Linked DNA regions of Homo sapiens: all the other regions are linked to region 5. Evidence: promoter capture Hi-C in 16 types of primary human blood cells and fetal thymus (Javierre and others, 2016). All regions are on one chromosome and are shown on one strand. The core of a region is centred on a gene start or on the middle of the fragment in contact, and the rest is flanking DNA. Distances in the headings are between cores, read along the strand shown.

Region 1 (3,119 bases), core at 129-2,628, 540 kb after region 5:
CTTGTCTACCCCAAAAAGCTTTTCACAAGCCCAAAGACCATTTAGCTATGAATTCATATTTAAGGTTTTATCGTTGTAACCTCCAACCTTTACCCAAAGTATCCATTAAGTAAAACTTCGGAGGGAGGATGGCTCATTCAGCAACCTCCTTTTACAGATGAAGGGACTGGGGAACAATAGCAGAGAGACTTTTCCAGCCACAGAATAAATCAGTAGAGAGCTAGGTTTAAACACATTTAGCTCTGTAATGCCCAATTATCTCTGGAGTCAGGAAGCGATTTAGGTTTGAAAACGCTACAGGCAGATGTTTCTGTGGGTTGAGTGCATTAACCAATATAACACATGAGCTACCAACACAAATATATTTGTTCTGTGCCAGGAGGTGGCCAGGCACTTTATGAGCGCTATAATTTTACCACCCCGGCCCCAATTCAACAAGCTAAGGATTAGCCCAGTGTTTCAGATGAGGAAGAGGTTAACTTGTTCAGGGCCACAGAATTAGACGTGACATAGCTGGGATTCAAACTGGGGACTATCGATTCTAAAGGGGGAAACAGGATAGAGAACGGGCTAGAAGATAGAGGACGGGCTACAATGGACTGGGCAGTCATGAACCTACTTACAAGATCAAGAGCTGGCAAAGCCTTAAAAATAAGAATAGTTACTGCTTCACTGGGCACTTTTAACGACTGCCTGGCACTGTACTGCGCACTCCACGTGGATTACCTAGTTGAAGCCTCCCAACAGTACTAAGAGGTAGGTACAATCGTTATTCCCATTGGCAAATGAGAAAACGGAGACACAGGAGGTGGAGCGACTGGCTCAAAGGAACACACCGAGCCGCTACCGAACGGGGGAGTCGAAACCAGGTCTGGAAGGCTCATGGGCATCTCCTTAAGTCCTCCTAGGCAGGCCTGGCTGAACCGAAGCCAGAAAAAGCCCACGTTTTACGCGAGAGGCAGGCGGGCCCGGCACAAGCGCGGGACGCGGTGACTCAGTTCCTAGCCAGCCAAAGAGTGGGATAAATTCCAGAACCCCTAGACCCGGAGAAGCGCATCCTAGATCCGGCTTTCTAGGCCGGCGAGGACCCAGAGCTTCCGAAACTCCTCAGACCACTGACGGAGTGACTCTGGGACACCACAGTCCTCAGTTTCCCCATCGGGACAATTGGGCGTCGAGGCCCAGGCCTGGCTCTCAGCCGGTGCGGACAGCCTCCCTCTGCGCTGCTCTCAGAGACGCGCACGGGCTGAGGGGACAGCGGAAGCCGGACCTGGGCCGCCCCTCCAGGCCTGCGGGCCACCGGCGCCCGCCCCTCACCTCCTTTAGGCATTGCGGCTCCGGCGGCTGCGGCGGCGGCGGCGGCGCCTCGAACTGACACCGGAACCGGAAATAGCTTGGGCTCGACTTCTTCCTCCTGGGCCAGCCGCCGCCGCCGCTTCAGTGGCCGCAGTGGCCGCAAGGACCCGGACCTCAGGGAGGCCTCCGCACGAAGTCGGACCGTCCTGCGCGCCGCCTAAGTCCAGGCTTGCCCGTCTGCTGCCAGGCAACAACGCCCCTAGTCTCTCCGTTCGGGAAGACGCGTGGCCCTGCCTGCCACCCACCGGAAGTGAGGGCAAATGGCAACAGCGGCTCTGGAATTCTATACAGGCATTGCTGAGGACACCTAAGATGACGCAATCTCCGCGCGGGTAGGGCGGGGCTCCGCAAGGACCTCATGCCTTAGAGATCGCCTGAAGAGCGGAAGCCTTCTGTCGAGAAGCAGCTACCCAAGCTCCAGGAGCTTCCGGTATGTGTTTTCCCTCTGTTCTCGATTACCTTGGCAACGGCTGAGGCGGGAGACCGGTGGTCTGCACCGTCCTGGAGGGAGATATGAGTGGCTGGACTCTCAGCCAGCCACTGGGATGTGTTCGGGCTTTGGACCTTGAGGCCGGAGAGAGCTCCCGAGAGGAGGCGGCGCCACGTTCGTTCTTCTGAGGGGACGGTAGATTTGGGGGTTTTCCTCTAGGATTCTCGCGCCGTTTCCTCTGGTAGGAACGTCTTCTGTGTTCTGATTGTTTTTCTAAGCTGGGTTCAGATGCTGTCCTTTTTATGAGTTTTCCCTACAATCCTGCACTATCTTCCTTCGCTCCTCCTCGCCTCCTTCCCCTAGCGCCCCAATCTCTCTTACACCTCCCGGCACATCTTTCTTCTCGATCTGATTACCTCCTACGTCCTCTTTCTCCTCGATCTGGTTACCGCCTACCATTTTCACCTCCGAGAGGCCTCTTCTGACTTCCAGGCTGGATCAGGGCCCTCGAATTTCCCTGGGTCGTAGAAAAGCGATCATTCTCTTGTCACAGACTATGCGCCTTGGGGCCGAGACCAGAATTCACCTATTTTTAGCTTCAGCGTAGGGGAGACTAGTGCGAAGACCACTGATTTGGGAGTCAGGAGCCCTCCAGAGTCAGGTTTTGCAAATTCTCAGCTGTGTGACCCTGATTCTACCTTATAGAGTTTGATTCCTCCTCTATATGGTTGTTTTAGAGAGTTCATGAGAGGAGGCTCTGTGGGCGGGGGGGGGGTGGGTCTTTGTAAAGTGTCAGTACAGAAGGGAGTGACTGAATGAATTTGAGAGAGATGAATCTGTTATGCTGAAAGGTAAATACTTAACCTGGGTTCTCTCTGGCAGCAAGGAAATGCTGTGTGGTTTGAAAAACGCTTTGCTATTTAGATTGGGATCGGCCTCTTGTATGGGAACTACCTGACTTTATGTAATATGTTGTTTGGTGTGAAAGAGACCTTGGCAATCAGCCAATCCACTGCCCTCATTTTACAGAAGAAACAGGACCAGAGAGGGAAGGTGACCTGAAAGTCACAGAATAATTTTTTAGAGCTGAACAAGAATCCAAGCCTGCAACTGCAGAGACGAGAGATCTTTCTGCTGTCTATACTCTTGGAAAGCACATCCTAAGGTACTTTGATTTTACAGTCATCTTTCCCTTTTTATTTTATGTTTTGTTTTGTTTTGTTTGTTATTGAGACATGGTCTCACTCCGTCACTTAGGCTGGAGTGCAGTAGTGTGAACATGGCTAACTGAAGACTTTCAACCTCCTGGGCTCAAGTGATCCTCTTGCCTCAG
Region 2 (3,065 bases), core at 358-2,857, 640 kb before region 5:
GAGGCCTCTGGAGGGTGACCCCCACTGTGCTTCACCCTGGGACCCTGGCCCTCGGACACCCTCTCTCCTGGCACCCCCAGCCCTGCCCCCTCCCTTGGTACTTCATTTCTTTACCCCCTCCCCAGGCACCCCCATTTCTGTACCCCCTCCCCTGGGCACCCCCATTTCTGTACTCCCTCTCCTGGGGCACCCCCATTTCTGTACCCCCTTCCCCGGGCACCCCCATTTCTGTACCCCTCCCCTGGGTACCCTCATTTCTGTGTCCCTCCCTGGGCACCCTCATTTCTGTACCCCTCCCCTGGGCACCCCCATTTCTGTACCCCTCCTCTAGCACCCCAGCCCTGTGTCCCCTCCCTGGCCCCATCTCCTGTGGGACCCGTGGGCACCTTCTTCTCCTCGTGGACCACATAGTAGATGAAGAGGATGCTGTCCCGGACGCCGTCGTGCCCCGTGAACTGCTCCAGGGCCAAGCGCACGTCCACCCACTTGTGGGGCTTCCAGTCGCACCACCACTGCAGCGCCCCGGTCTTCACCCACACCGACTGCGCAGGCCGGGGCAGTGGACACCATCACAGGCAGGCCCGGGGTGCCAGGGGAGGAGGGCGGGGCTGGGGGTGCCCAGAGGAGGAGGCAGGGCTGGGGTAGGGCCCACCCAGCACTCCCGGCTGTCAGCCCAGCTCCCCCTATGCTAATGATAACAGTGACGCTGCCGGACACCCAATAGGTGCAGGCTGAGCCAGGGCTGTTCCGTACAACCTCCTCTCTCTCAAACAGCCAGAGTGGGCACTGCCATCCCGCCTTCTGCATGGGGAGACAGGCTCGGGAGGGTTCCGTGCCTGGCTTTGGTGTCACAGAGTGAGCCAGCGGCAGAGCTAGAACCCAAACCACAGCCTACTTGTGTCCAGGGGCCTTTGGAATGAGGCAGGTCACATGCTCTGTGTGACTTCCCTGTCACCCCCACACTTGACCTCTGAGGGCCGGGCTCTGCCACAGGATAGTGGGGCAGAAGCAGGGTCAGCCCAGGGGTGGGGTCTCCGGCCGCCCTCTGTGCTAACTCCTTGCAATCACACGCTACACCCCTGGGCGCCCGGGGTTCCCTCCAGCAGGAAGAGGATGACGTGGTTCCCCTCCCTGGCCACCCTCCCTTCCCCACCCACCACCCTCTGAGGTTGCTGCCGTCTCTGGGTCCCCAGGGCCTCCAACGAGTCTGGAACACAGTGAGGCCCAAACCAAAGTCTTCAGGATGGACGAAGAAACCCTGAGCTCATTTCTCTATGCCTGCATCTGGGCGGGAGACCAGGGGATGGAGGCATCTATCTGTTTCTCTCAGAGCTGGTACACAGCAGGCGCTCAATGAATGATTGCTGGAAAAAAAAAAAAAATGCATGCGCAGCCACCGGGGCACCCACCTGCTCCACGGCCTGCTCGTAGTGTCTGAAGTTCTCCAGCTCCCGCTTGGTCCTTTCCGTGAGCTGCTGGAAGATCTGCTTCCTCCAGGCAGCGGTCTGGGCCGGCGTGATGGACAGGGACAGCATGTGTACCGAGGAGGACAGGCCTGTGGGGCAGAGAGAGCCTCAGGGCCGGGGCACTGTCCTGCCCGCAGCTGGGCAGGAAGCCACGGCGCTCCCCTCCACCAAATCAGCCCTTTCTAGCTCAAAAGCTACGCTCTCTGTTAAGCCTCCTTCCACCCTTTGCCCTGTTGGATGAGTTGCTCTCCCCCAGTAATTCAGCCTGGAAAGCAGCCACCACCGCTAGCACAGGGGAGGGGCTGCAGACAGGGGAAGGGGCACTGGCCACCGTGCTTCCAGGTCCTGACAGCCTCGGGCTGGTCTCTGGAGGCCACAGAGGAGCGCAATGCCTGGCTCAGAGCTGCTGAGCACAGTGAGGCGTCCAGGGAGGACAGCAGGCCTGCCCGAGCCCCCTGACCCCGGCCTCCTCCCACACCCCACACCCCCAGGGCACCTGGCCATGTGGATGCCCCCAGGCCCTGCAGGAGCCCTTACCCGCCTGGACAGTGAACCATCTGGGCATGGCACATGCCTCCACCACGCAGCCGCCTCCCGACACCCAGGCCCACAGCGGGTGGTCATCCACCCCATACGGCTCCTCCAAGCCCAGTGGGAGGAGCCCCAGAGAGGAGAGGCTGGTGGTCTCGGGGAAGCCAGCGGCCGAGTGGCTGGGCACTTTCTTGGCCTCCTTGAGGTCAATATTGGTCCAGGGCAGCTCGGCCGGGGTGGGGGCCGGGCCGGGGTGCGTGTTGGGTCTGGCCTCCCTGCTGCCCTCGGCTGGGCAGGCATCTTCCACGGTATCTTCTGCGGTCCTGCCAGCCCCCAGGCCTGAGGCTGAGTTCCCTGTGGCATTCTTGGAATCGTCTAGAGGTTCTGCAGGGAGAATCTGGCCAGGCCCTGGTCTCTCGACTTCCGAGGAGGCATCGGTGTCGCTGGGGGCAGACTCGCCACTACCCCTCACCTCATCACCGAAGAAGCAGCCGGCACTGGGGACAAATCAGGGCAGACCCATCACTCCCTTGCAGGGGAACAGGCGCTGTCAGGCAGGCCCAGCTCCAGCGTGCTCCACCATGACTGCCTGTGGAAACTTGGGCAAGTCAGAACCTCTCTGAACTCCTGTCTCTTCCTCTGTGCAAGGTATACATCAGCACCTGCTTCCAGGGAGCTGACACCTGGGCCACCCTGCAGACCAATCACATCCACATATCTGAGAGTGAAGATCTAGAATTAGTATTTCTTCTTTTTTTGAGACGGAGTCTCACTGTCATCCAGGCTGGGGTGCAGGGGCACAATCTCAGCTCACTGCAACCTCCGCCTCCCAGGTTCAAGCGATTCTCCTGCCTCAGCCTCCCGAGTAGCTGAGAGATTACAGGCATGCACCACCACGCCTGGCTAATTTTTGTATTTTTAGTAGAGACGGGGTTTCACCATGTTGGCAGGCTGGTCTTGAACTCCTGACCTCAAGTGATTCGCTGGGCTCAGCCTCCCAAAGTGCTGGGATTACAGGCGTGAGCCACCGCGCCCGATCATAAACCTCTTTTCTTTATAAAAGACCAG
Region 3 (3,042 bases), core at 188-2,687, 570 kb before region 5:
AGGCACGATTCATGCCAATCCTGACTCCACTCTGCCCTCCCCTCCTCTCCCACTGGAGTCATCTGACTCCTTGGGGCCAACACCATCTCCCTCACATGTGCAGCTTATGCTAGGGGAAGGCGCTTCCCAAACTAGAAACCAGAAACACCCTCCACCCACCCCAAGCACACCCCGGAGCTTGTTCAGAGCCTCCTGGGCCCCCACGGGACTTTAAAAAGGTCCCAGTAAATCCTCACAAAGAACGCAGCAAGAAGCACCGACTCCTGCCAGGAGGACTGAGGAGGAAAAAGAACGCTTAAGATGACAGCTGGAAGCCACTCAGTGTTGGGCCAACCCCGTGCACGCATGCCTGGGGCCCAACAATCCTGCTCCCTGTAGGAACAAGCAGGGCACACACCCATGGGCACCGAGACACTCGGGCAGCCCTGGAGAAACAGCCCAGACCAGAAACACCAGACGCCCGTCAATGGGAGAGTCAGAACCAGCTTCTGTGCAGACAGCAGGTCACCACACAGCACTGAGCGACTGTCCCTACGGGGCCACCCCAGACAGCCATCTCTGTGCCAGGGCTTGGGGAGTCTGGTGTTGGAGAAGGGATGGTCACGGAGGTGGGCCATGCTGGGTGATCGTGGGGGCCGGGAACGTCCTGCTGGGTATACGGAGTCACATCATGAAAATTCATTGTGTGCTTTTCTGTCTGTGGTATTCTGTAATACAATGTTTACTTTAAAATATGTATTGGGCCAGGGACAGTGGCTCATGCCTGTAATCCCAGCACTTTGGGAGGCTGAGGTGGGCGCATCACCTGAGGTCGGGAGTTCGAGACCAGCCTGACCAACATGGAGAAACCCCGTCTCTACTAAAAATACAAAATTAGCTGGGTGTGGTGGCGCACGCCGGTAATCCCAGCTACTCAGGAGGCTGAGGCAGGAGAATCGCTTGAACAGGGAGGCAGAGGTTGTGGTGAGCTGAGATTGCACCACTGCACTCCAGCCTGGGCAACAGAGTGAGACTCCATCTGTAAAAAACAAAAAAACAAAAAACCAACAAAACAAAAACAGAAACAACAAAAACATATTGGACGTGTTCAGGCAGATTTCCCGTTTAACATCTGCATGTTTCTCAGGGACCTGAAACCCCAGCACTCCTTCTGGATACAAGGCTGGCAGGAGCCTCTCTGCCTCCCTCTCCACTGCAAAGGAGACCCACGAGGGCAGGGGCTTGGCACATACGGTGCCTCTTATCTGGTGGCCCCCAAGGGTCTCACAGCATCCTCCCTGCGTCCCTGTCTCAACCGCATACCTCACACTCAGCCCACTGTGGTGGTCACTGAACATAGACCTGCCCTCCTCTCTGTTCCCTTTCCTTGCAGTGGGGGACACCTCCAAGCCACAGGCAGCACTGCCACCGGCACCCAGGGCCCCGCGGGCACTGCCTGCTGCATGTCCTGTGTCCCCAACAAGACAGGAGACCACTAAGGCCACGAAACCAGCAGCCACTACGAGAGTGGTTGGGCTGCAACTGGAGACTATAGAGCGAGGCCACCAAGCGGCTGACTGCGGCCAGGGTGGACACATCTTGTGATCCCCCATCTCCCGCAAGAATCCAAGAATCCAAAATGTGTGTGTGGACACTGGCTGACCACCCATCACTCGATGCCTGGTCCACACCCCCTTCCCGACTGTACGGAGCTTCCAGGGTGCCCACCACATAGCCATGCGCCCAGGTTGGGGGACTAGTTGACCTGGCTTTCAGAGGGGTCCCGGGCAGCTCGGAGCACCGAGCACCACTTTTTCCCTTGGGCTGCAGCAGAGAATGCTGGTGGCCCTCACTGCAGAGGGCAGGACAGAGTGAACAGGGCCAGTGCAGGTGGCCTTGCTCCTGAGCAGAATGGAACAGCCCTAAGGAACATTTCCAAGCCAGCTGGAGGCCAGTTACTCGCAACAAAAGTGGCCCTCACTGACACCTGTCTTCAGTGTGAAAACCCATTCCAGTCCTCGTCTGTGGCCCGGACTTGTCTTCCAGTTCACTTCTGATCTAGTTCAACCCCTTTATTCTCAAAAGGGGGACGCTGAGGCCCAAACAGGGAAAAGCCAACTGCTCCGAGCCACTGGGATCTTTTTGGAAGCCGAGGCACCCATGTTGTGACGCAAACGAAGATGCGTGCAGGCCTGCACCGGGGGCACTGGCGGCTCTCAGGAGGGGCTCACGCCACGTGAGGGCGCGCTGTGAAATGCAGGCTTGCTTTTACAAAGGAGAGCTGTGTGCTTATTTAAAATGTTGGGAGGGAGCCAATACTTCCTCACTTGGAACTGCAGTAGAAAATACGTAAATTAAAAAAATTCAGGCCGGGCACAGTGGCTCACGCCTGTAATCCCAGCACCTTGGGAGGCCAAGGCAGGAGGACTGCCTGAGGTCAGGAGTTCAAGACCAGCCTGGGCAACATAACAGGATCTTATCATTGTTAATAAAAACTTAAAGAGATATCACGTGACCTGTGGCAAACCCCTAGCTTGAGTCCTGGCAAGTCTCCCCTGCCCCCTTGGGAGAAGCCCCTGCTCTCAGATCGTCTAATAAGACGCGCCGTCACAGGACAGCTGTGGGGCTTCCCAGGTGAGTGGGATGCTCTATGGACACCTAAGGTTAAGCATTCCAGTGTCACACGACCTGTAACTCACAGGAGCTGGATATAAAACCATGTATAAAAATGCTTTTAAAAAACATTAGGGGCTGGGTGCGGTGGCTCACGCCTGTAATCCCAGCACTTTGGGAGGCCGAGGCAGACGGATCACAAGGTCAGGAGATCGAGATCATCCTGGCTAACACGGTGAAACCCCATCTCTAATAAAAATACAAAAAACTTAGCCAGGCGTAGTGGCGGGCGCCTGTAGTCCCAGCTACTCGGGAGGCTGAGGCAGGAGAATGGCGTGAACCCAGGAGGTGGAGTTTGCAGTGAGCCGAGATGGTGCCACTGCACTCCAGCCTGGGTGACAGAGCAAGACTCTGTCTCAAAACAAAACAAAAAAAACATGAGGATGCTTT
Region 4 (3,362 bases), core at 651-3,150, 600 kb before region 5:
TGGCGCGATCTCGGCTCACTGCAACCTCTGCCTCCCGGGTTCAAGTGATTCTCCTGTCTCAGCCTCCCTAGTAGCTGGGATTACAGGTGCATACCATCACGCCCAGCTAATTATTTGTATTTTAAGTAGAGACAGGGTTTCACCATGTTGGCCAGGATGGTCTCGAATTCCTGACCTCAGGTGATCCGCTGGCCTCAGCCTCCTAAAGTGCTGGGATTACAGGCGTGAGCCACCACGCCTGGCCCCTGAAGACACTTTCTAGGGCCTCAGGGAAAGCCTGAAACTGGGCTGCTGGCTTGGGCATTTGTCACTTGGCAACTTGGGCATTGTCTTGTCACATTGTGTTCATGTGGCTGGTTCTCCGTTGCCAATTCTCATAAGTCAGGGTTTTTATCAAGGATTCCCTTGGCATTGGTATTAATCCAGCTTCTCCCCAAACCATCCTGGCTCTGAGGGGTGGTACCTGGCTGTGGGCGCCATGAGTCGCTGGCTAGCAGTCGGACTCCAGGCTCAGAACCTGAGAATCTTGGCGGTGGGGCAGGATTGTGAGGCCGCATTCTGTCCCCGGTGAGACCTGGCTCTGTCCAGTTCCTCCCGGGCCTCCCAACGCCCCCGATGGCTCCTTCCCCCTGGCCATCTGTCCGGTCCCTCCTTCATGTCGGTCGCTGGCCCACCGGTGACTGCTTGGCTTCTGCTGGAGTTTAAGGGGGCTTTCCGCTGCCCCGTACTGAGGCATCCCCGCATCATTCCTGGGCGTGTCCCCAAGAACAGCCATGGCCTCCACAGTGCAAGCTGAAGGTAGGAGCCCCCGGAACAGACCAGGGAGGCAGTGGAGGGTGGGCTGGGCCAGAGAGAGGATGGGGGCTACCTGCTGGGGAGAAGGGATGGGGGAGTGGAGAGGGGACCCTCCTGCCACAGTGGCATCGGGAGGCCCTGGGGGCTCCTTCCCTCTGTCTCTTCGCCCATGGCAGCCTCTCTTCTTTGGAGAACCCCTCCCCACTGCTGCCCCCCAAGCTCACATGTGCTGCAAAGCCAAGACTCTATGAAACAGCATCTCCAAGCCTCGGTGCCTTCTCCTCCACTCTGCGGCTTGAAGCAGAACCGAGTTCTGGGCACTGCTGGCAAAATAGAATAATGACGGAGAGGAGGAGACCCAGATCCTTATAGGCCCTGAGAGGGTCCCCCCAAACATCATTGCTTGGGGGTGAGTCCTGAAAGCCGCTCCCTTACTGACCAAAGGAAGTGACCTCTCCATCTCAACCTGGGAGTGGTCATTTTTCTGCTTCATCCTAACCAAAGATGATGCCTCCTGTCACCAAACTCAGAGCTCTGGTGACTGGGGACAAGTTTGCCTCAAATTCCACTTCAATTCTCTCTACCATCATAGATTATTTCAATTTTATAATGTTTATGTATTCAGGGGGTTCAAGTACAGATTTCTTTTTTCTTTTTCTTTTTTTTTTTTGAAACGGAGTCTCGCTCTGTTGCCCAAGGCTAGAGTGCAGTGGCGCGATCTCGGCTCACTGCAATCTCCGCCTCCTGGGTTCAAGCAATTCTCCTGTTTCAGTCTAACAAGTAGCTGGGATTACAGGTGTGTACCACCACACCCAGCTAGTTTTTGTATTTTTAGTATAGATGGGGTTTACCATGTTGGCCAGGCTGGTCTTGAACTCCTGACCTCAAATGATCTGCCCACCTTGGCTCCCAAAGTGAGGGAATTACAGGCATGAGCCACCGTGCCCGGCTTTTTTTTTTTTTGAGATGGAGTCTCGCTCTGCTGCCCAGGCTGGAGTGCAGTGGCGCGATCACAAATCACGGCAGCCTCAACCTCCCAGCCTTAAAACACCTCAGCACCCTGCGTAGCTGGGAACACAGGTGCACATCATCATGACTGGCTAATTTTTAAATTTTTTTTTGTAGAGACGGGGTCTTGCTGTGTTGCCCAGGCTGGTCTCAAACTCCTGGGCTCAAGCAATCCTCCTGTCTTGGCCTCCCAAAATGCTGGGATTACAGGCGTGAGACACTGCAGCCAGCCAGCCACAAGGACAGATGCCTTACATGCAGGTATTGCATAGTGCTGAAGTCTGTGCCTTCAGTGCACCTGTCACCAGAATCGTGAACATTGTACCCAACAGGTGATTTTCAGACCTCACCCCCCTCTTGCCCTCCCACCTGTTTCAGTCTCCAATGTCTATTCTGCCACTCAGTATGTCTGTGGGTACCCATCGTTTAGCTCCCACATATAAGTGAGAACATGCCATCATAAATTAAACCACAGCTAACAGATCCCATAGGGAAAGACCTTCTGTCAGTCTGGATAACTTTTTTTTTTTTTTTTTTCTGAGATGGAGTCTTATTCTGTCATCCAGGCTGGAGTACAGTTGCGCAACCTTGGCTCACTGCAACCTCCACCTCCCAGGTTTAAGCAATTCTCCTGCCTCAGCCTCCTGAGCAGCTGGGATTGCAGGTGTGCACCACCACACCCAGTTAAGATTTGTATTTTTAGTAGAGACGGGGTTTCACCATGTTGGCGAGGATGGTCTTGAACTCCTGACCTCAGGTGATCCACCCGCCTCGGCCTCCCAAAGTGATGGAATTACAGGCGTGAACCACCTCGCCTGGCCAACAATCAGGATAACTTTCATTGTCATCTGATAGAGAATAGAAAAGTCACAGAGGTGCCTCATTTTCCCTGAATGACACTTGTAATCTCCAAAACTATCGAGTGAGATCCCAAAGAGCATCAGTCATCTCCACTGGCATCTTCCCTGCCATCTAGGCACTCTCAATTTATTTTATTTTATTTATTTATTTTTTATTTATTTTATTTTATATTTTATTTTATTTTATTCATTTTATTTTATTTTACTTATGAGACGGAGTCTTGCTCTGTCGCCCAGTCTGGAGTGCAGTGGCGCAGTCTCTGCTCACTGCAAGCTCTGCCTCCCAGGTTCACGCCATTCTCCTGCCTCAGCCTCTCGAGTAGCTGGGACTACAGGCGCCCACGACCGAACCCAGCTAATTTTTTGTATTTTTAGTAGAGACGGGGTTTCACCATGTTAGCCAGGATGGTTTCGATCTCCTGACCTTGTGATTCGCCCGCCTCGGCCTCCCAAAGTGCTGGGATTACAGGCGTGAGCCACCGTGCCCGGCCTATTTTATTTTTTAAAATTTTTTAATTTGTGGAGACAGAGTCTAGCTCTATCGTCCAGGCTGGAGTGCAGTGGTGTGATCTCAGCCCACTGCAACCTCCGCCTCCCGGGTTCAAGTGATTCTCCTGCCTCAGCCTCCCAAGTAGCTGGGATTACAGGTGTCTGCCACCATGCCCAGCTAATTTTTGTATTTTTAGTAGAGACGGGGTT
Region 5 (3,349 bases), core at 137-2,636:
CTCCCCGACGGGTGAGGGAGAAGATGTTTCCCAACTCCACTCTTAGCCACTGTGATTTTGACCACATCAAGGGTGCAATTGGCTAGAATGGGAACCACACATGATTTCCAAATAATTAATTCACTTTTGTTATTATTTTCTTTTTCTTTTGCAATTTAGGACACATTGAAAATCTCTGACACAAATCAACCTGATGGACAAGAGACCCCTTTCCTGTATTTCCAGGAGGAAATAGGTAATCTTGTCCAAGTGCAATTCCCATAAAATTCGTCTAATTCATCCCTGAGTTGCAGGTTTTCTTTGACCTCATGGTTTTTCTTTCACAAATTTTCATTAGATCCCTTGCTCTCTCTCTCCACCGCTCTTTTATGAGGGGGGAGGGGGTGAAAAGTGGTGGATAGTATTCAACCTTCTTAGCTGCCCACGTCCCATCTGTCCCTCGAATAGTCTTAAATCTGGGTCCTTTTATGGTTCCCAAAATGTGGCAGAGAGGTGGGTGCTGGCTTTCTGGCGGTGGGGAAGTGGGGGCAGTAGACACACAACCCTGCTTCCCCCACTCCCCCACCCACACACACACCCCAGGAACCTGTCAGCTCCGGGTCCATTTTGGAAATCACCACCAGAGAGGAAATGGCAGCCTGGCCTCCTGGGCTCTAAATTCGCATCTCCCCAAAGCCAGCACCAACACGGTGGGAAACCCCTCTAGATGAGGCGACATTTTAAGGCAAAAACGTTGCCCATCCCGTGCTCCCTGGGGGACTGGGGAATTGTGGCGCGATGACGGACCCTGGCGCATCCCCGCCTCCCTGCCTCGTCCTCCCCTCCCTTAGCGGGTGCATGGTCCCCAGGCATCGACGGATGCGCCGGCCACCCCCGCGCGGTTTCCAGGGCAGGGCCAGCCTGGGGGGGTGGAAGCAGGAATCCAGGGGGTGCGGGGAGCCCCCTCCAGTGCCCAGGCGACTTTGGGGAACAAGGATGAAAGGAGAGGGGAAAGGGCGCTGCAGTGGCCTCAGCCGAGGAGGGAGATGCGCGCAGGGCGCACGGTGCCACCTCCGCAATCCCTGCTCCCGGGCCCACTCGCCCGCTGAGACGGTTCCAGGCCCCGGGCGGGCTGCGGCTGCAGGGAGGCCGGATTGCCCAGCGCCTTACCTGCGGCCACCCCTGCCGGGGCCCAGGGCAGGAGGCAGGCAAGCCAGAGGATGCGGCCGAGGCGCGACCACACTGCCTGGGCCATTGCGGGGCCCGGAGCGGGAGAAGCGTGGGGCGGACGCGGAGGGAATGCAGCTGGAGCTCGAGAACTGCGGCGGTCGCTCCTCCGGGCGCGCAGCGCGGGCGGTGCGGGGAGGTGCGGGCGCCGTGCTCGCTCGTCCTCGCCGGGGGACGCTCTGTCGCTGCGCGCCGCCGCCGCCGCCCACAGCCCGCTGCGCGACCCCGGCCCACGTCAGCCGCGCCGCGCGCCCTCCTCCTCCTCCCGCCGCCCCTTGCTCCCGCGTCCCTCTCCACGGCCGCGTCCTCCCTCTCCGGGTCTCTTCCCACGGCCGCGCCCCCTGCCCTCCTGGAGTCCACGATCGCCCCTCCCAGCTTGCTTCCCCTCTAGGGGTTCCAGAGCTCCCTTCCTGCGCCCTGGCTCCTCCCCGCATCCCTCCCCACCCCAAATCCACCCCCGGCCGCATCCTTCCCCTCCACTACCCGAAACCACGCCCCCCGCACCCGCATTTTTCCCTTCCCCCGAGCCCCTCCCCGCCCTGGATCCGATGCCGCCGGCTCTGACTCAGCGTCCCCAGGGGCGTGCGCTGCGCTGCAAGCCGCCTGCAGGTCCCTTGGGGCTCTCCTCCAGGTGCCTTCTCTCTGCACGCTCGTGGCTCCGAGATGCTACTCCTCATTCAAGAACTGTTGAGAGCTTAAGGTGCGCCAGGCGTTGGGCGAAAGGCCTCGAAATTCCTCTTGCTGCTGCTGCTGCTGCTGCTTCCTCTTTTCTTTTTTTTTTTTTTTTAATCTTGAGACAGAGTCTCGCTCTGTCCCAGAATGGCGCGATCTCGGCTCACTGCAACCTCCGCCTCCCGGGTTCAAGCGATTCTCCTGCCTCAGCCTCCCTAGTAAGATGGGATTACAGGTGCCCGCCACCAGGCCTGGCTAATTTTTGTATTTTTAGTAGAGACGGGGTTTCACCATGTTGGCCAGGTTGGTCTCAAACTCCTGGCCTCAAGTGATCCTCTCGCCTCAGCCTCCCAAAATGTTGGGATTACAGGTGTAAGCCACTGTGCCCAGCCTCTTGCCCCTTCTTGATAGAGGGGCCTGAGCACCCGGCCCCTGCCGTGGGCTTGATGTCATCCCCCGGTTTACCCTCTCACAGCTGCTGTTAAGATGGGGCTCCTGCTCGTATCTGGGCCCAGGGCAACTTCTTTGTCACTGAGGGCCTTGTGGGAGTCAGGCTACTGCGGTGAGGGGTGACCAGCCTACACAGTTACTGCCATTTGCCTTAGAGGAGCAGGGCTGGGCTCTCCTAGAAGCTGGAGGGGCCTGGCTGGCCTTAAACGCTGGAAGCCCGGTGGGTTCTGGTCCCAGCTATGCTTCCGCTTTGCTACGGCTACCTGGGCGAGGGATCCTCCCACACAGTGAGGGCCTTTGACCTCCTCTCTGGCCCGTGGAGCACGGATGGACCATCACTGCACCACCCAGTGCATTGACATCAAGGCGTCTAAAGCAGGGGTCTCCAAGCCCCTGGCCGCCAGTACCAGTCCATAGCCTGTTAGGAACTGGCTGCACAGCAGGAGGTGAGCAGGGCCTGTGAGCCACGCTGAGCTCCACCTCCTGGCAGATCAGCAGGGCATTAGATTCTCATAGGAGCGCAAACCCTACTGTGAACTGCTCACGTGAGGGATCAAGGTTGCGTGCTCCTTATGAGAATCTAATGCCTGATGTTCTGTCACTGTTTCCCATCATCCCCAGATGGGACCATCTAGTTGCAAGAAAGCAAGCTCAGGGCTCCCACTGATTCTACATGATGGTGAGTATGTAATCATAATAGAAATAAAGTATACAATAAAAGTAATGCGCTTGAATCATCCCGAAACCATCCCTCCAACCCCTCATTCGTGGAAACATTGTCTTTGGTGCCAAAAAGGTTGGGGACTACTGGTCTAAAGGGCCCCTGGCTCTGGGACAGCTGTGAGCTTCCCTAAGAATGGGCCCCACTGGCCCCACTGCTATGTTCAGGGAATGGAGGGAGAATAGATTTGAGTGAGCCCCTATGAAAAGTTAAAAGGGCTAGACAGGGCAGGGCATGGTGACTCACACCTGTAATCCCAGCGCTTTGGGAGGCCGAGGCGGGTGGATCACGAGGTCAGGA
Region 6 (3,253 bases), core at 412-2,911, 540 kb before region 5:
TTCTCCTGCCTCAGCCTCCCGAGTAGCTGGGATTACAGGCATGCACCACCACACCCAGCTAATTTCGTATTTTTAGTAGAGATGGGGTTTCACCATGTTGGCCAGACTGTGTTTCGAAATCCTGACCTCAGGTGATCCACCTGCCTCAGCTTCCCAAAGTGCTGGGATTACAGGTGTGAGTCACCATGCCTAGCCAAGAAAAATCTTAAAAGCCAGAGGAAAAGAACACCTTGCTTCTAGAGGAACAATGATAAGAATGACATCAGACTTCTATTTACAAACCATGCAAGCAAGAAGAGAGTGGAGTAAAATACTTAAGTGTTGGAAGAAAAAATTCACCAACATAGAATTCTTCAGTAAAATCATCCTTCAAAAGTGAAGAAGAGATAAAGACATTCTCAGACAAACAAAAACTGAGGGGATTGGTTACCAGTAGGTCTGACTTGGGAAAAGATGTTAAAAGAAGTTCTTCAGAGACAAAAATCACATAGGTCGGAACTTTGGATCTACATAAAGAAAGGAACAGGGCTGGGCGCAGTGGCTCACACCTGTAATTCCAGCACTTTTGGGAGGCTGAGGCGGGTGGATCACTTGAGGCCAGGAGTTAGAGACCAGCCTGGCCAACATGGTGGAACTCTGTCTCTACCAAAAATATAAAAATTAGCCGGGTGTGGTGGCGCACACCTGTAATCCCAGCTACTCGGGAGGCTGAGGCAGGAGAATTGCTTGAATTCAGGAGGCAGAGGTTGCAGTGACCCGAGATCGCTCCACTGCACTCCAGCCTGGGTGACAGAACAAGACTCCATCTCAAAAAAAAAAAAAAAAAAAAAAAAAAAAAAGACAACATTCTAGATATTTAATGTCACCTTTTCAGTGAGGTACAATCTAGTCTTCCAATACCTAAGGTAGTACTTAGTAAAGATGTCTCCTCTAAAAAGTATAACAAAGTATACAGGCCTGGCGCAGTGGCTCACACCAGTAATCCTAGCACTTTGGGAGGCCAAGGCAGGCGAATCACAACGTCAGGAGTTCGAGACCAGGCTGGCCAACAAGGTGAAACCCCATCCCTACTAAAAATACAAAAAATTAGCTGGGCCTAGTGGTGGGCACCTGTAATCCTAGCTACTCAGGAGGCTAAGGCAAGAGAATCACTTGAACCTGGGAGGCAGAGGTTGCAGTGAGCCGAGATCACGCCGCTGCACTCCAGCCTGGGTTACAGAATGAGACTTCGTCCCCAAAAAAAAAAAAAAAAAAAAAAGTTAGCTGGCATCTCTCCTCAGTTGACAACCTCCAGAAGCCCCATCTGCACCCGGGGTTAAGAGGTAGAGCCCTTGCCAGGACTCTCAAAGCCCTACGCGACCCAGCCTCATGCCTTCTGTCTGCAGACCTCATCCTCGCCTGCCCCTCAGCCACACTGGCTTACATGTGTGACCCAAGCCCACTAAAGCCTCAGGGCCTTTGCACTTGCCAGCTCCCACTAGAATGTTCTCCCCAGACACCTGCCTGATGAGTTCCCCGCAGTGCACGTCCCTGACCACCCTACCTAAAACAGCTGCATCCCACCCCTTCTATCACTCAGTGGCCCCTTGCCTTATTACTACCTGGATATTAGACTTGTTTATCTGTCCACCCCACTAGAATGTTAGTTCCCTGATGGCAGGGACTTCTGTTTCATTGATTTATCCCCAGCAACTAGAACAATGCCTACGAGACAGGAGATGTTCATTTAAATGAGCACACTGGGCCAGGTGCGGTGGCTCACACCTATAATCCCAGCACTTTGGGAGGCCGAGGCAGGCGGATCACCTGAGGTCAGGAGTTCAAGACCAGCCTGGCCAACTTGGTGAAACCTCACCTCTACTAAAAATACAAAAAATTAGCTGGGCGTGGTGGTGGGCGCCTGTAATCCCAGTTACTCAGGATGTCGAGGCAGGAGAATCACTTCAACCTGGGAGGTGGAGGTTACAGTGAGCTGAGGTCATGGCACTGCACTCCAGCCTGGGCAACAGAGGAAGACTCTGTCTCAAAATAAATAAATAAATAAATATAAAATAAATGAGCACACTGGTATTTAAATATCAAAGAAAAACTACTGCAATTTCTTGATTATTAGACATTTGGTTTTATGTCATTTTCAGAATACCAAGGGATAACTACCCCGCCCACCCTCCCCAAACTAAGGGACAATTTTCCCCACGAACCAAGAAGAAACAAACCCTGTACCCAATCCCAGTACTCCAGTCTTCATCTTCCTCCCTGGCTCACGGCTCCACGATGGTGCCAAGGCTCATGTGTGGAATGTTACATTTTAAAAAGCGGTGCACAAAGTCTATAGGCACAGGGTTTAATTATGTAAAAAGAGGCATTTAAAAATAATAAAGTTAGAAATTGAGTTTGATGTTTATTAGGTTCATTTCTCAGTAAAGGTATACATTTAAAAAACACATAAAGTATATTTTAATTCCCATTTTAAAATGAAAGTACATTTCTAAACTTCCCGGGGGACTCATAAGCTATTTTAAAATGTTAATATGAAATGAGAAATTAGGCAGAAGAATAAACATGGCCTAAGATTAAAATGTTTAATCAAATAAGAAGAAAAAGAGAGATCTTAGTAGGTAACAAATTTCTATAGTTATAAAAATGGAAGCTACTAACAGCCCTGCCTTCGAGTTTAAATGCCTGAGTCACACAGATCAGCATCAGTGCACCCAAGAGTTATAGGAACAGGCTTACTCTGGAGTCTAAAAGTCCAGCTTCATTGTAAAGAGCTCACCATTTAATATGCCTCTTCAGTCACCTAGTAATTTTTATTTTACCTTTGAACTCATACTTCTAAAATATTAGTCAGTTTTTTTTTAATAACTCAAAACCTTTTAGTCCTAATAATACCAATTCTTATTTCAATTTGAAACAAGAACATACAAACCCAGAATCTGCAGCCTGGCACACAAAATAACGAGGCTCATTAAGGGGTTTTTGTTTTTTTGAGACAGAGTCTTGCTCCGTCACCCAGGCTGGAGTGCAGTGGCACGACCTCGGCTCACTGCAACCTCTGCCTCCTAGGTTCGAGCAATTCTGTCTCAGCCTTCCGAGTAGCTGGGACTGACTATAGGTGCCCCCCACCACGCCCAGCTACTTTTTGTATTTTTAGTAGAGATGTGGTTTCACCATATTGGTCAGGCTGGTCTCGAACTCCTGACCTCAGGTGATCCGCCCGCCTCGGCCTCCCAAAGTGCTGGGATTACAGGCG

What was found. The method cuts DNA at HindIII sites, captures the fragments that hold promoters and counts their contacts. A CHiCAGO score of 5 or more calls a contact.
Region 1: a contact is called between the fragment with the promoter of PDAP1 here and the fragment with the promoter of TMEM130 in region 5, in 2 of 17 cell types (M2 macrophages and monocytes). The highest score is 7.6, in M2 macrophages.
Region 2: a fragment that was not itself captured here is called in contact with the fragment with the promoter of TMEM130 in region 5 in 8 of 17 cell types (naive CD8 T cells, total CD8 T cells, M0 macrophages and 5 more); the score reaches 7.1 in naive CD8 T cells.
Region 3: a fragment that was not itself captured here is called in contact with the fragment with the promoter of TMEM130 in region 5 in 16 of 17 cell types (naive B cells, total B cells, M1 macrophages and 13 more); the score reaches 22.8 in naive B cells.
Region 4: a fragment that was not itself captured here is called in contact with the fragment with the promoter of TMEM130 in region 5 in 5 of 17 cell types (total B cells, naive B cells, total CD8 T cells and 2 more); the score reaches 7.3 in total B cells.
Region 6: a contact is called between a fragment that was not itself captured here and the fragment with the promoter of TMEM130 in region 5, in 9 of 17 cell types (naive B cells, total B cells, endothelial precursors and 6 more). The highest score is 11.9, in naive B cells.

The regions. Positions count from the first base shown.
Region 1 is chr7:99,407,219-99,410,337 of GRCh38, forward strand. PDAP1 (PDGFA associated protein 1) reads right to left here and starts at 1,379. Exons shown (of 6, transcript NM_014891.7): 1 at 1,318-1,379. The coding sequence starts at 1,330. It overlaps BUD31 (BUD31 spliceosome associated protein), which reads left to right and starts at 1,751. Exons shown (of 6, transcript NM_003910.4): 1 at 1,751-2,027; 2 at 2,816-2,951. MIR12119 (microRNA 12119) reads left to right here and starts at 1,954; the gene lies at 1,954-2,046. RefSeq lists a silencer at 1,148-1,207 and an enhancer at 1,418-1,807. The HindIII fragment of the contact is 3,476 bases long and covers 17-3,119 here.
Region 2 is chr7:98,231,418-98,234,482 of GRCh38, forward strand. TECPR1 (tectonin beta-propeller repeat containing 1) reads right to left here. Exons shown (of 26, transcript NM_015395.3): 11 at 2,004-2,494; 12 at 1,410-1,555; 13 at 387-542. Among named protein-coding and RNA genes, the nearest start is that of TECPR1, 19 kb to the right of the region's middle. RefSeq lists a silencer at 386-586. The HindIII fragment of the contact is 4,336 bases long and covers 1-3,065 here.
Region 3 is chr7:98,295,603-98,298,644 of GRCh38, forward strand. All of the region lies in intron 12 of BAIAP2L1 (BAR/IMD domain containing adaptor protein 2 like 1), which reads right to left. It also overlaps a transcript of BRI3 not described here. Among named protein-coding and RNA genes, the nearest start is that of BRI3, 15 kb to the left of the region's middle. RefSeq lists a silencer at 312-426 and an enhancer at 1,037-1,538. The HindIII fragment of the contact is 4,957 bases long and covers 1-3,042 here.
Region 4 is chr7:98,269,838-98,273,199 of GRCh38, forward strand. LOC124901705 (a long non-coding RNA gene) reads right to left here and starts at 1,126. Exons shown (of 3, transcript XR_007060446.1): 1 at 1,020-1,126. The HindIII fragment of the contact is 5,981 bases long and covers 1-3,362 here.
Region 5 is chr7:98,868,628-98,871,976 of GRCh38, forward strand. TMEM130 (transmembrane protein 130) reads right to left here and starts at 1,387. Exons shown (of 8, transcript NM_152913.3): 1 at 1,150-1,387. The coding sequence starts at 1,234. RefSeq lists enhancers at 285-871, 872-1,457. The HindIII fragment of the contact is 4,583 bases long and covers 1-3,349 here.
Region 6 is chr7:98,331,574-98,334,826 of GRCh38, forward strand. The region is part of intron 3 of BAIAP2L1 (BAR/IMD domain containing adaptor protein 2 like 1); the gene reads right to left. Among named protein-coding and RNA genes, the nearest start is that of BRI3, 52 kb to the left of the region's middle. RefSeq lists a silencer at 2,571-2,771. The HindIII fragment of the contact is 7,452 bases long and covers 1-3,253 here.